Regions from separate parts of the Homo sapiens genome. Here region 1 is linked to region 2. The links are contacts of gene promoters, found by promoter capture Hi-C in human tissues and cell types (Jung and others, 2019). All regions are on one chromosome and are shown on one strand. The core of a region is centred on a gene start or on the middle of the fragment in contact, and the rest is flanking DNA. Distances in the headings are between cores, read along the strand shown. Region 1 has its middle 37 kb from the start of IDO1. Region 2 holds the start of ADAM2 (ADAM metallopeptidase domain 2).

The links. Contacts are between HindIII fragments. The study calls those that stand out against the background at their distance.
Region 1: a fragment that was not itself captured here is called in contact with the fragment with the promoter of ADAM2 in region 2 in 2 of the 25 tissues and cell types used here (aorta and small bowel).

Annotation. Positions count from the first base shown.
Region 1 is chr8:39,873,091-39,880,096 of GRCh38, reverse strand. No RefSeq gene overlaps it. Among named protein-coding and RNA genes, the nearest start is that of IDO1, 37 kb to the left of the region's middle. The HindIII fragment of the contact is 5,127 bases long and covers 2,217-7,006 here.
Region 2 is chr8:39,836,418-39,843,752 of GRCh38, reverse strand. It overlaps ADAM2 (ADAM metallopeptidase domain 2), which reads left to right and starts at 5,526. Exons shown (of 21, transcript NM_001464.5): 1 at 5,526-5,622; 2 at 6,541-6,617. The coding sequence starts at 5,568. The HindIII fragment of the contact is 9,732 bases long and covers 1-7,335 here.

The DNA.
Region 1 (7,006 bases), core at 3,531-6,030, 37 kb before region 2:
CAGTCAGGCACATGCTGGGGCCAAAATTGCTGCCAGGCAAAACCTCCCATTAGAAATACCTATGGAAGGACCCTTGGTATGGAACAACCCCCTACAAGAGATTAAGCCCCAGTATTCCCCAACTGAAACAGAATGGGAACTTTCGCGGGGGCATAGTTTTCTCCCCTCAGGGTGGTTAATGACAGAAGAAGGAAAGGTACTTATACCCAAAGACAGCCAGTGGAAAATACTTAAAACCCTCCACCAAACTTTTCATATGGGTATTGAAAACACTCATCAAGTGGCCAAATCCCTATTTACAGGGCCAAATTTCCTCCAGACCATCTGACAGGTAGTCAAAGCCTGTGAGGTGTGCCAAAGGGGTAATCCCTTGGTCCATCGTAAGCCCCCTTTGGGGGAACAAACAATAGGTCACTATCCTGGAGCAGACTGGCAGTTAGACTTCACCCATATGCTTAAGTCAAAGGGATTTCAAAACTTGTTGGTCTGTGTTGATACCTTTACAAATTGGATAGAAGCTTTCCCCTGCAAGACAGAGAAGGCTCAGGAAGTGATTAAAGTCCTAATTCATGAAATAATTCCTAGATTTGGGCTTCCCCAAAGCTTACAGACTGACAATGGTCCAACTTTTAAAGCCACGATAACTCAGGGAATTTCCAGGGCGCTGGGATACAATATCACCTTCACTGCACCTGGAGGCCACAATCCTCAGGGAAGATTGAGAAGGCCAATGAAACACTCAAGAGGCACTTAAGGAAACTAACACAAGAAACTCATCTCCCATGGCCTACTCTTTTCCTCATGGACTTGTTGAGAATCCAAAATTTTCCTTGCAAAATGGGCTCAGTCCATATGAAATGCTGTATGGATGATCTTTTCTCACAAATGACCTCCTACTTGATCAGAATATGGCCAACATGGTCAAAGATATAACTTCTTCAAAATATCAACAAAACCTTTAAAATCTATGTCACAGAGAGAGCAGGGATAGCTCTGAAGGATGTCCAGAGAAAAGGGAACAGAGTTGTTTCAACCAGGAGATCTAGCGTAGGTCAAATCTCTCCCCTCTACCTCCCCATCTATGGACTCTGTGGGAAGGACCATACTCAGTAATCCTCTCTACCCCCACTGCAGTTAAGGTGGCAGGAGTGGAATCTTGGATTCACCACACCTGAGTTAAATTTTGGACACCCCCTGAGGAACCTGTGGGACTGTCAGCTCAGGAGTCCCAAGATCAGCCAGACCAGCCTCGATAAACCTGAGAACCATTAGAGGACTTGCATCTCCTATTTCAGAAGGAAATATCCCAGACTAAAAAGGCTCCTACCACTGATCCTGAAGAAAAACTCCATCCTCCTTAAAAAAGATAAGTGAAAACCTACATAATCTTTATCTTTAACACCCCTCCTTACCCCTTTAATGGAATCCTTTTACTATTTCATTATATTATTAAGCAGCATACTAACCATACTCTTTGTGATAGGGCTATATACTGTAGTTCCTGCTGGGACAAAAATCCTAATCACATCAACCTTATTTCTATCTTCCTTCCTTCTGACTGCAATTTACTCCTACCTTTAACTCAGCCTGGATAAAATGATTTCGTCTTCCAGAGCACACTCTTTACCTTCCTATTTACTCTTTGCTTACCTATACCTCCTGCTTCCTTGGATACCTCATACAATCACCCCTCCCTTTCCACTAGCTCCTAATTGCCTCTACAAGACTCTCAACTTAACCCACTCTCTGTTAAACCAGTCCAATCCTTCCCTGGCAAATGACTGTTGTCTTTGTGTCTCTCTATCAACCTCTGCTTACGTTGCCACTCCCATTCCCACAAAACATTGGGTCTTTAACAACTTAACCTACCACCCTCATTACGAAGGGAAAGACCCTTTCAGACTTCTAAATATGCAATCATTAGCCAACTTCTCCATCTCTGATAGGGCCAAGAATACCCTAACAAGATGTGCAATCCAACTTTTATGTTCTTACATTTCCAACCTCACCTATTACACAAGCAATGAAAAGCCCATACACGGCCCTGTTACCATGAATACGATCTTAACTTTCCAAGCCCCTTTATGCATCCAACACAACCTGTTATCAGGTCTGCCCCTGGGGCACCTACTACCCCATCTGTGTAATTACACTCTACAACTTCAAGCCCCAACTGATCATAGTAACTTCTGAGTCACCCAAAGAGCTCCATTCAGATGGCTTGTCTACTTCTCAGGGCCCGCAAAAATCATCACCTCCTCCCTGCTTAACGAACAGTCCAGGTTTTATAATGGCAAACTTACTCCCAGCCTGAACATTCACCCCTGGACCCCTTGCAGCAGGGCCCCCACCACTAATGAATGCCTTCTCATCCCCTCTTTCAATCACTCTCTCTAATGGTTCCTAGTAGATACAAAATGGTTTTTTCTCCAATGGGAAAATAGAACACAGGGAGCCACTCAGTTTACTCCCAACACTCTTTTCCAGCTGCTCAGCAGAGCTACCTTGGCAAGTACTCTAGGAGTATGGGAAAATGAAAACAACAAAGTCACACACCTTTTTAACATACACAACCAGTTCTGTCTACCCAGCCAAGGTATATTCTTATGTGGAATGTTGACCTATATCTGCCTCTCCACTAACTGGACAGGCACCTGCACCTTAGTCTTTCTAAGTCCCAACATTAACATTGCCCCAGGAAATCAGACCCTATCGGTACCCCTCAAAGCTCAAGTCCATCAGTGCAGAGCCATACAACTAATACCTCTACTTATAGGGTTGGGAATGGCTACTGCTACAGGAACCAGAATAGCCGATTTATCTACTTCATTATCCTACTACCACACACTCTCAAAGGATTTCTCAGACAGTTTGCAAGAAATAACGAAATCTATCCTTACTCTACAATCCCAAATAGACTCTTTGGCAGCAGTGACTCTCCAAATCACCAAGACCTAGACCTCCTCACTGCTGAGAAAGGAGGACTCTGCACCTTCTTAGGGGAAGAGTGTTGTTTTTACACTAACCAGTCAGGGATAGTATGAGATGCTGCCCAACATTTACAGGAAAATGCTTCTGAAATCAGACAACACCTTTCAAATTCTTATACCAACTTCTGAGGTTGGTAACATGGCTTCTCCCCTTCCTAGGTCCCATGGCAGCCATCTTGCTATTACTCACCTTCAGGCCCTGTATTTTTAGCCTCTTTGTCAAATTTGTTTCCTCTAGGATCAAGGCCATCAAGCTACAGATGGTCTCACAAATGGAATGCCAAATGAGCTCAACTAACATCTTCCACCAAGGACTCTTGGACTGACCCACTGACCCTTTCACTGGCCTAAAGAGTTCCCCTCTGGAGGACACTATAACTGCAGGGCCCCTTCTTTGCCCCTATCCAGCAGGAAGTAGCTAGACTGGTCATCCCCCAATTCCCAACAGCAGTTAGGATGTCCTGTTTAGAGGGGGGATTGAGAGGTGAAGTCGGCTGGGCTTCTGGATTGGGTGGGGACTTGGATAACTTTTTTGTCTAGCTACAGGATTGTAAACACACAAATCAGTGCTCTGTGTCTAGCTAAAGGTTTATAAATGCACCAAACAGCACTCTGTAAAAACACACCAATCAGTGCTCTGTGTCTAGCTAAAGGTTTGTAAATGCACCAATCAGCACTCTGTAAAAATGGACCAATCAGCACTCTGTAAAATGGACCAATCAGTGTTCCATAAAATGGACCAATCAGCAGGATATGGGTGGGGCCAAACAATGGAATAAAAGCTGGCCACCCAAGCCGGCAGTGGCAACCCTCTCAGGTCCCCTTCCATCCTGTGGAAGCTTTGTTCTTTCACTCTTCACCATAAATCTTGCTGCTGCTCACTCTTTGGGTCCACACTACCTTTATGAGCTGTAACACTCACTGCGAAGGTCTGTGGCTTCACTCCTGAAGTCAGCGAGACCACAAACCCACCAGGAGGAACAAACAACTCCAGACATGCCACCTTTAAGAGCTGTAACACTCACTGAGAAGATCTGTGGCTTCAAACCCACTGGGAGGAACAAACAACTCTGGACGCACCACAGTTAAGAGCTGTAACATGCCGAGACCAGCTGGGTCAGGGAGACCCTAACCCAGTGGCACTAGAGGAATTAAAGACACACACAGAAATATAGAGATGTGGAGTGGGAAATCAGGGGTCTCACAGCCTTCAGAGCTGAGAGCCTTGAACAGAGATTTACCCACGTATTTATTGACAGCAAGCCAGTGATAAGCATTGTTTCTATAGATTGGAATATAGATGAACTAAAAGTATTCCTTATGGGAAACAAAAGGATGGCCGAAATAAAGGGATGGCTTTGGCTAGTTATCTGCAGCAGGAGCATGTCCTTAAGGCACAGATCACTCATGCTATTGCTTGTAGTTTAACAATGCCTTTAAGTGGTTTTCTGCCCTGGGTGGGCCAGGTGTTCCTTGCCCTCATTCTGGTAAACCCGCAACCTTCCAGCGTGGGCATTATGGCCATCATGAACATGTCACAGTGCTGCAGAGATTTTGTTTATGGCCAGTTTTAGGGCCAGTTAATGGCCAGATTTTGGGGGGGGGGGCGGTCCTGTTCCCAACATGTCCCCCTTATTTGATTTGCAAAGTGATAAAAGCAAAGGCAGCTTTGTCACAGTGAGCTACTTCTTGCAGGAGTCAGGATCTGCATCTGCAGACTATACAAAGACAAACAACACAGATTAAAGGTACAATCATTATTGGAATCACAGAGCTTCCCAGTGTTTTTATCCATTTTAATCAGTTACTAGCTGCTAATCAGTCTGCAGCTCCTTCAAGCACTCCAGTTCCTGGCATTAAGGTCAGGTGTGCCTGGGATGTTTTAAATATTTGTTCTTTAATTTTGCAATATCCAAAGACAAGTTTGTAGAGTGTCCTTCTAAATGCTTTTTTATTCTTTCCCAAATTTTGATCTTATTAAGAGCTATTAATGGTTTCCACAAATCCTTACATTAAGCTCCTAGAGCAGGCCATATCATTTGAGGTTGAGGTGTCACTATACAGCCATGGTTCCAGATAATAGAATTCTTGCCATACTTCTTTCCATTTCTACCATCTGACCATTTTGTTCAGACCAGCTGAACATAGTGTGGCCATGGCACACAGACTGAGTGGTGCAATTTAAGCTAAACATCCCCTTAGGGGACCGATCAATAATGATTCCATAGGAATCGTTGCACAGCACCTCTGCCTGTTCTGCAATGCAATCTTCCTAAACAAGAACATTCATTATTTCTGGCCAGGTTCTATTTTGTTTACAAATAGGTTTTTGAGGGCAGTATGCCTCAATTATAGGAGCAGATTTATTATGGTAAATACTGAGACCAGAAAGCATGTGTAACTGTGTCACGGAGTGATTACATTCAGGCATTATTGCCAGCCAAGATTGATAAATATGCCCAATAAGTATAACTGTTCTCTGTGTCAGCCCTTGTTGAAGGAATACTCATGGCAATGGTGATCACCGGTGTCATAGCTACCATTAAATTACTCATTGTGACTGTTTGCCCCACTTTCCTCAGGTTTTCTTCTGCCATCTGTGACAGTTTCTTGATCTGTCCCCAGGTGGGAGGCTGTGTTCGATGGGTGTTGCACATGACAGTTGGGGTCCTCCTCAGCATCAGCCTCGACATGGCTGCAACCAAGAGGTCCTTGGGATGCTCCTGGAATCTCTTCCTCAGCATCTGGCTCATGATAAGTTTTCAGATGTCTTGATGGTATCCAAATTGGCTGTTGATTTTGGCCTGGAGAAACACAAGCATAACCTCTACCCTAAGTTATTATTTTATCTATTTCCCAACTTTTTGTTATCAGATCTGTCCACCAAACCAATTGTTTTGCTTCTGTCTTTGCAGCTGGTTTCTGTAGATGCTGTTAAGCTGCTGATAACATCTGGCCTTTGGGCAGGCTCAAAAAATTTAAAGTTAATAATGCTAGATTCAATTGTGTGTGAACTGCCCCTTAATCCCTGTTTCTCCCCCTTTTTTGTTTTTGTCATCAGTTGATTATCTGTATGAAATCGTAACAGCATTTTCAATTAACTGTGTGGAATGAGCCATGTATGAAGACTCAGAAATCACTTTAATAGGCATATTGAAAGCAATCAATATCTCAATTACAGCTACAAGCTCCGCTTTTTGAGCTGCAGTATAGGGCATCTGGAAAACTTTAGTTTTTGAGCCAGAATAAGAAGCTTTACCTTTACTAGACCCATCTGTGGAACATGAAAACTCTTAGCAGGCTGCAGGTTATTTACCGCAGGAATTGTAAACGCAAACCTTTCACAGTCTTGCTCAGCTAAGGGGATAGTAAAGAAACAGTCTTTAAATCTATGACTATTAAAGGCCAATTTTAAGTCCTCTAAAGCCTTCAGTTTCTCTTTACTCTGTGGTCATTCTTCTATCCAAATTGGCTTTTCTGTTAACCATTTTAAAGATATAGGTTCTGGAGACTTAACAATGGCATCATCAAAAATGATATCCTAAACCTTGGCAGGAACTTTGTCTTTCCCCTTGAAGTGGTTCCTTTAAACCTTGCAAATTTTTTCCTAGTCCCATACCACAGACATATCCCATTTCATGCATCATATGTTGACTTTGAGGGCTGTATAATTGTTCTGGAATTAGAACTTGTGCTCCCCATTGTTGTAACAAATCTCTCCCCCATAAATTTATAGGTACAGAAGTTATAATTGGTTGAATAGTCCCAGGTTGTCCATCGGGCCCTTCACAGTGCAAAATATAACTACTTTGATATATTTCAGGGGCTTTGCCAACTCCAACTGTGTTAAATTGAGTGGGTTGAATTGGCCACATGGATGGCCACTACTGTACAGAAATGATTGAAATGTCCTCCTGTATCTACCAAACCTTTAAATTTCTTTCCTTGAATAGTTATTTCACAGGTAGGATGTTTATCAGTAATTTGATTCACCCAACAAGCTGCTTTACCTTGTG
Region 2 (7,335 bases), core at 4,277-6,776:
GGACTTCTCAAGCCTCCAGCACCATGAGTTCAATAAACCTCTCTTATTCATTACCCAGTCTATGGTATTCTGTTACAGCAACAGAAAAAGGATTAAAACAGATATGCTTTAATGTCTTACTTTTTAACATTTTGTGTATCCACTCTTGGTTTTTGATTTGTGGTTACCGTGAGGCTTACATAAAACATCATCTAGTTATAATAGCCTATTTTAAGCTGGTAACAACTTAACTTTGATTGCATTAAAACCCTACCTTTTTATTCCCCCTACATATGTTTTTGATGCCACAGTTTACATTCTTTTATATTGTGTTCCTCTTAACAAATTATTATAGCTATTATTTTTTTGTAGGTTTTCTCTTTTAACCTTCTTAATAAAGAGATACATAATTTGCACACCACCATCGCTGTATTCCAGTATTCCTAATTTGACTGCGTACTTACTCTTGTCAGTGAGTTTTATACTTCTCTGTATTTTTATGTTACTAATTAGCATCTTTATTTTTTCATCCTGAGGAATTTCCTTTAGTATTTCTTACAAGGTTGGGCTAGTGGTGATAAACTCATTCAGGTTTGCTTGTATGGTAAAGTCTTTATCTCTTCTTTATTTCTGAAGTATAGCTTTGCCTAGTGAAGTATTCCTGGTTGACAGGTTTTGTTTATTGTTTTTTTTCTTTCTGGCAGTGCTCTGAACACATCATCTCATTATTTTCCTGGCCTGCTGCTGAGAAATCTGATAGGCAACGTGGATTTCTTTTGTGTGTGATGTGCTTCCTTTCTCTTGCTACTTTTTGGATCTTCTCTTTAATTTTTGACAGTTTGATTATAATAAGTCTTGATTTAGTATTGTTTGGATTGGATTTGATTGGATAATCTCGAGTTTCATCTACTTTGATTTACATCTTTCTCCAAATTTGGGAAGTATTTGTCATTATTTATCTAAATAAGCTCTTTCCCCTCTCTATTTCTGTGCTTTATGAGCATACCCATAATACTTTCTTGAACCATCATTATGCTAGATTTGATAACACATTCACAATCATAAGCTGAGGACCAACTGGAAGATTATATTTTCCTAATGCAGAGACTATCACTATAATTTTTCAAACTAAAACATAGAAAGAAAATAATTTAAAAAGCAGAGGAGAATTTCAGATCCTGGGAAACTATAAAATGACCTAATCTAATATAACCAGACTCACAATATGAGGAGAAGAGAAAATAAGATAGGGAAATATATAAAGAGAAAATATTTGAGAGTTTTAAAAATGGATAAAAGATATAAATTCACAAACCCAGAAAACACTTCACATTCTGAGATAACCAATATAAAGGAATTGCACATCTAGGCATATCACAATCAAACTGTTGATAACTAAAGATAAAGAGAAATTATTTAAAACAAGCCCAGAAAAAATTTGGGGGGGAACAACATGAAGAGTGATGTTAGAAGTAACAGAAGGCAAAATCTAGTTCTCATTAGAAGCAACGGAAGGCAAAATCACTGGGATGAAATGCTTAAGATACCAGGAAAAAAATACCTGTTAATGTAGAATGTTATAGCCATCAGGAATGCACTTCAGAAATGAAGACAATATTAAAAACAATTTTTATAAGCTAAGAGCAGAGAGAATTTCTCTGTGTAAATATAAGACCTGTAAAAATTGATACTGAAATTAAGTAAATAAAATAGCAACGTAACATTTTGTGATAGAGATGTAGATACAGTAATAAATCCCATACAATGAAATATTCAACACTAAAAGGAAATGGGCTATCAAGTCATGAAAAAAAGTGAAAGAACCTTAAATTTCTTTTCTTTTTTGTTTTTTTGAAATGTAGTCTCATTCTGTTGCCCAGGCTGGAGTGTTGGCATGATCTTGGCTCACTGCAACCTCTGCCTCCCAGGTTCAAGTGATTCTCCTGCCTCAGCCTCCCAAGTAGCTGGGATTTCAGGTGCCCACCACCACTCCTGGCTAATTTTTGTATTTTTAGTAGAGATGGGGTTTCACCATTTTGACCAGGCTAGTCTCAAACTCCTGACCTCAGGTGATCCTCCCACCTCAGCCTCCCAAAGTGCTGGGATTACAGGTGTGAGCCACTGCACCTGGCCAGGAACCTTAAATTTCTAAGTGAAAGGAGCCAAAATGAAAAGGCTATACTACTGGTGATTCCATTATTACATTCTGAAAGAGGCTAAATTATGGAAACAGTAAAAAAAATCAGTGCTCAGAGAGAAGAGAGGGATGCATAATTGGAGCACAGCAAGAAAACAATTTTGATTGGCACTATAATGATAGATGCACATCATTACACTTGTCAAAACTCATAGAATGCACAACACAAAGAGTCACCCCTAATGTAAGCTATGGATTTGGTTGTTAAGGATGTATCCATGTGTACAATGTTCACGGATTTTAACAAATGTACCTTACTGATATAGGATGTTGACAGTGGGAGATGCTGTGCATGTGGGGTTAAGGATATGTGACCTTAACCCCAGTTTTCCACTGGGTATTTTTCTGAACCTAGAACAGCCCTAAAAAAGCCTATTAATTATACATATATGTATATATGTAAAATATGTGGCTATAAAAATTAAATTAAATTAAATTGAATTATCTTATTGCAATATTCTTACTTTGTTTATTATGGGTATGTGGAATGCAATATGTTGAAGATATATAATATAATCTCTAAACATTAAAAACCCCCAAAAGAACAAATAGTATATTCAAAAATTAACGAGACCAGGTGAAATTAAATTTAAAGCAGCTTCCATTATCCAAAAGAGGTAAGAAAGTAAAAATAAAAGACCAGACAACTAGTAGGAAAACAATAGAAAACTGCTAGCAGGTGAGAGACATAAACTTAACATGTCTGTAATTACTGTAAGGAAATGGACCTAATACTTCAATTAAAGTCAGGTTCATCATACTGAATTTAAAAATCTGTATGTTATTTATACACAAACACACACACACAAACTTTAAGGATATGCCTTTAAAGTGAAATATTTTTTTAAAATATCCCAAGCAGATTCTAATTATTTTTTTAAAAATCTGGCTATGGAAGTGATAGATAAAATAAGCTTAATGGCAAAAAGCCAGTATGGGCAAAGAGTGACATTATAATGACATAAGTTCACTTCATCAGGAAGACAAAACCTCCCTAAATGAGTTTTAAAAAAATAACTTATCTTCAAAATATGATAATTAAAAATTGATAAAACACAAAGGAAAAATAGAAAAGTATTCTTAGTTGGACATAATAAAAGAACAAGAATTAATAAGGATATAAAATATTTGAAAATGTATTATCCAACTTGATCTAGTTGACATTTAAAGAATAATATAATCCACAGCTAAATAGTCTGCATTCTTTTAAAGTTTGCATTCTTTTAAAGTTCGAAACATTCAATGTAATGAACCATATAATGGGCAATGAATTTTCTCTTAGTGAATTGCAATGACTTGAAATTATTCAAAATACAATCTATGATCACAATGGAATTGAGTTAGACATCAATAAAAAAGTAATTAATACATGCTTAAATATGTGGCATTTAAATAACACCAATAAACATGTGGGGCAAAAAGAAATCATGATGAAAATTAGAAAACATTTAGAATTGAATATTAATGAAAGTAAAGTATATCAAAATAAAGTATAAGAATACAATGGTGAAGTTAAAGCAATGAATAGATAGAAATTTGGAAATACATGGAAATTTGTAGTTTAAAGGCATAGGTTAAAAGAAGAAATGTTTAAAATAAATAATATAAACTTCCAATCTTAGAAGCTAGAAAAGGAACATTATGCCCAAAGTAGAAAAAAGGAAAAGAACCCAAGAACAAAATCAACAAAGCAGAAAACATACAACAGAAAAAAATAAAGAAATCCAAAACCGAGTTCCTGTAAAACTTAATAAAAATTATACATTCCAAGACCTATTTACCCAGTATAAAGAGAAACATCACAAATTATCAACATTGAGAATGGAAGAAGAGATATGTCTGCAGGTGCTATAGACCTTAAAAAGTTGCTAGAGGAGAGGAAGTCATTATGAACAACTTTTGTCAATAATTTAACAACCCCAAAGAAATGGACAAATTCCTTCAGAAACATAACTTTCTCAAACCAACACGAAAAGAAAAAAATATGAATATTTTAAAGAAATTAGATAAAAAAGTAAATAAATCTTCTCATGAAGAAAACTCCAGGTCATAATCACTCCATTTCTAAATGCTAAGAAACATTAAAAGAATAAATATTCACAGCATTACACTATTTCAAAGATTAAACGAAGAGATAACATTTCTTAATTTCTTTTATGAGGGCAGCATGTCTTGATATAAAAGTTGGTAAGTTCATTACAATGAAGGAACATTACAGACAACACAACAACACAACAAGGCATTGATGTGTACGAAGTGGAATTTTCATATACTTCTGGTGAGAGTATAAATTAGTACAGTCTTGGAAAACTTGTCGGAAGTATCTACCAACACATACCCTGTGATCCGACAACTTCACTCTAGAAATATACACAGTAGAAATCCTTACTTATTACACCAAAAGGCATGTAGAAGAATGTTTATAGCTAAATATTATTTTTAATAGCTGGAACAATAAACAAACAAAATATTCATTAACAGTAAAATGGAAACACAAGTGGTGTTATATTTAATGAATTTGTAATATACACCAATGAGGATAAAACAGAACTATTGCTTTGTATGAACCTTACAATCATCCTATTAAAAGAACCCAGACATGAAAGAGTAGATGGTGATTGCTTCTACTTGCGAAAAGTTCAAAAACAGACAAAACGAATCTTTGGTTGTTTAGAAGTCATGGTTGTGAGGTTGGAATCTGGGGATTTGGGTGGTTCTTTTTCATTTCTTCATCGTGGTACTAGTTACGCTGTTTTTTTTTTCCACTTGAATATTAATTGACCTGTGAACTTATGATTTATTATATACTTTTTTTCGTTTTTTGTTTCGTTCTTTTTTTTTTTTTTTTTTTTTTTTTTGACGGAATTTCGCTCTCTCACCCAGGCTGGAGTGCAGTGGTAAGGTCTTTCTGCTCACTGCAACCTCTGCCTCCTAGGTTCAAGCGATTCTCCTGCCTCAGCTTCCCGAGTAGCTGGGATTTCAGGCACCCGCCACCATGCCTGGCTAATTTTTTTTTGTATTTTTAGTACAGACGGGGTTTCACCATGTTGCGGAAACTGGTCTCGAACTCCTGATACGTGTTTATATATATTCAATTGAAATTTTACTTAAGAAGTGTTTATAAATCTTCCTGTTCCTCAGCTGTTGGAAGTGATTTTGTTGTTGCTGTTGCCTTAATTAGGCATCACGTCCAGTGGAGTGCTTGTCCTGCAAGAGACAGGGCTCAGGAGCTCGCACGTTCCACAGCGCACCACACCCAACCTCAGCCCACCTGGGCTCTCCCAGCCGCCTACCTCTTCCAGGCTGCGTGGCCGGGGCGTCATCTCGCGCTTCCAACTGCCCTGTAACCACCAACTGCCATTATTCCGGCTGGGACCCAGGACTTCAAGCCATGTGGCGCGTCTTGTTTCTGCTCAGCGGGCTCGGCGGGCTGCGGATGGACAGTAGTAAGCAGAAAAACCCCTCCTCTGGCCTTTTGGGACCCTCAGCGCTACTCTCCCTTTGCCTCCAAGTTACATTGACATCCCTGGGAGGATGCTTTCCTGAGGGGTTTCCAACTCAGCAATTCCAAGCTCATCCCCGACATTGCCGCCTTCCCCACCCAAAATCCACGTAGAATAAGGGCTTTCCCACACGTCCTGGAAACCTAGGAAAGATAAGATAGGAGGTCCTAGGCCTTAAGAGGTTGCTTCAAAATTGTAGTTTCAGATCCTGCTTTGCATTTTTCACGACAGTGAAAGTTGAGACCCAACTTCTGTACTCTCTAGTTGAAGAGTCCAGAGTGAGTTAATTTGTCCTGAGGGGCTTGAACCTATTGACCCAAGGTTACCAGATCCTACCTACAGGGCAATACTCCTAAAGCAATACACCTACTTCTTTTTTAAAAAAATATGGCCGGGCACGGTGGCTCATGCCTGTAATCCCAGCACTTTGGGAGGCTGAGGAAGGCGTATCACGAGGTCAGGAGATCGAGACCATCCCGGCCAACATGGTGAAATCCCCCTCTACTAAAAATATAGAAAATTAGCTGGGGGTGGTAGTGCGTGCCTGTAGTCCCAGCTGCTGGGGAGGCTGAGGCAGGGGAATCGCTTGAAACCGGGAGGCGGAGGTTGCAGTGAGCAGAGATCTCACCACTGCACTCCAGCCTGGGCCTGGGCGACAGAGTGAGACTTCGTCTCAAAAACAAAAAAAAAAACAGAAAAACAGAAAAAAAAACCTCCTTGTATTTTTAGAAAGAAATGGGAAGATAATAAAAATGAGAAGCAGCGTATAGAATAGAGATTAGAGATTTAGATGAAAAACTCATAAAACACGCTCTGAAATGATGGGCATTGTTCTAATAAAACATTTTGCACATTTTGCAGATTTTGATAGTTTACCTGTGCAAATTACAGTTCCGGAGAAAATACGGTCAATAATAAAGGAAGGAATTGAATCGCAGGTAATGAATCACTAACAGTATTTACAAATTTAAAATGATGTAAAGATTTTGTTTCTAAGAAGTTAATCTGCCATTTTTCATTCATGCACACCTGTTGAATTTTATATTTATACCAAATTTTCCCTGAATGGAAAAGCCCTTTTGAAAATGAACCAGGATCAACAATGTTTCACAGAAATAATGGTGCAGTGATGCTGGTTATCAAAGCCCCAAGTCCATTTTCTGAATCTGTCTTCCTCTTGGATGTCTTTGAATAATCATTGGCTTGATTGTTCTAGAGATTCTGTTCTCACTCACCGTTCAGGCTGTATTTGGAGGAATTTTTTGTCATTGTTGCTAAGTAAGCCTTGGCTTGCTTATATGGGATGATGATCACTTGAATTAATGATGTGTTATATTAATGATTTTTTTAGCCCTGATTGCGAATATGTTAATGATTAGAACTCTTTCTTTCATGCTATTTTAGATTATTTTAGTTCAGAATTATTACTCTCTTTTTAAAATTTGAATTTAAAATCTTCTTATCATTTTCACTAAGTTCTAGAATCCATTTCTGAAGTGGAATGTGGTTTCTTGAGACATCAATTTTTTTTTTTTGGTTTGGTAGCAGATGTTCTGGTAATTTAAATGCAAACATTTCCTTAGCATATATCCATTTGTCATCCTAATACAGACATTATAGCTTAAGATGTTATTTAAATCATTTTTAAAGGAATGC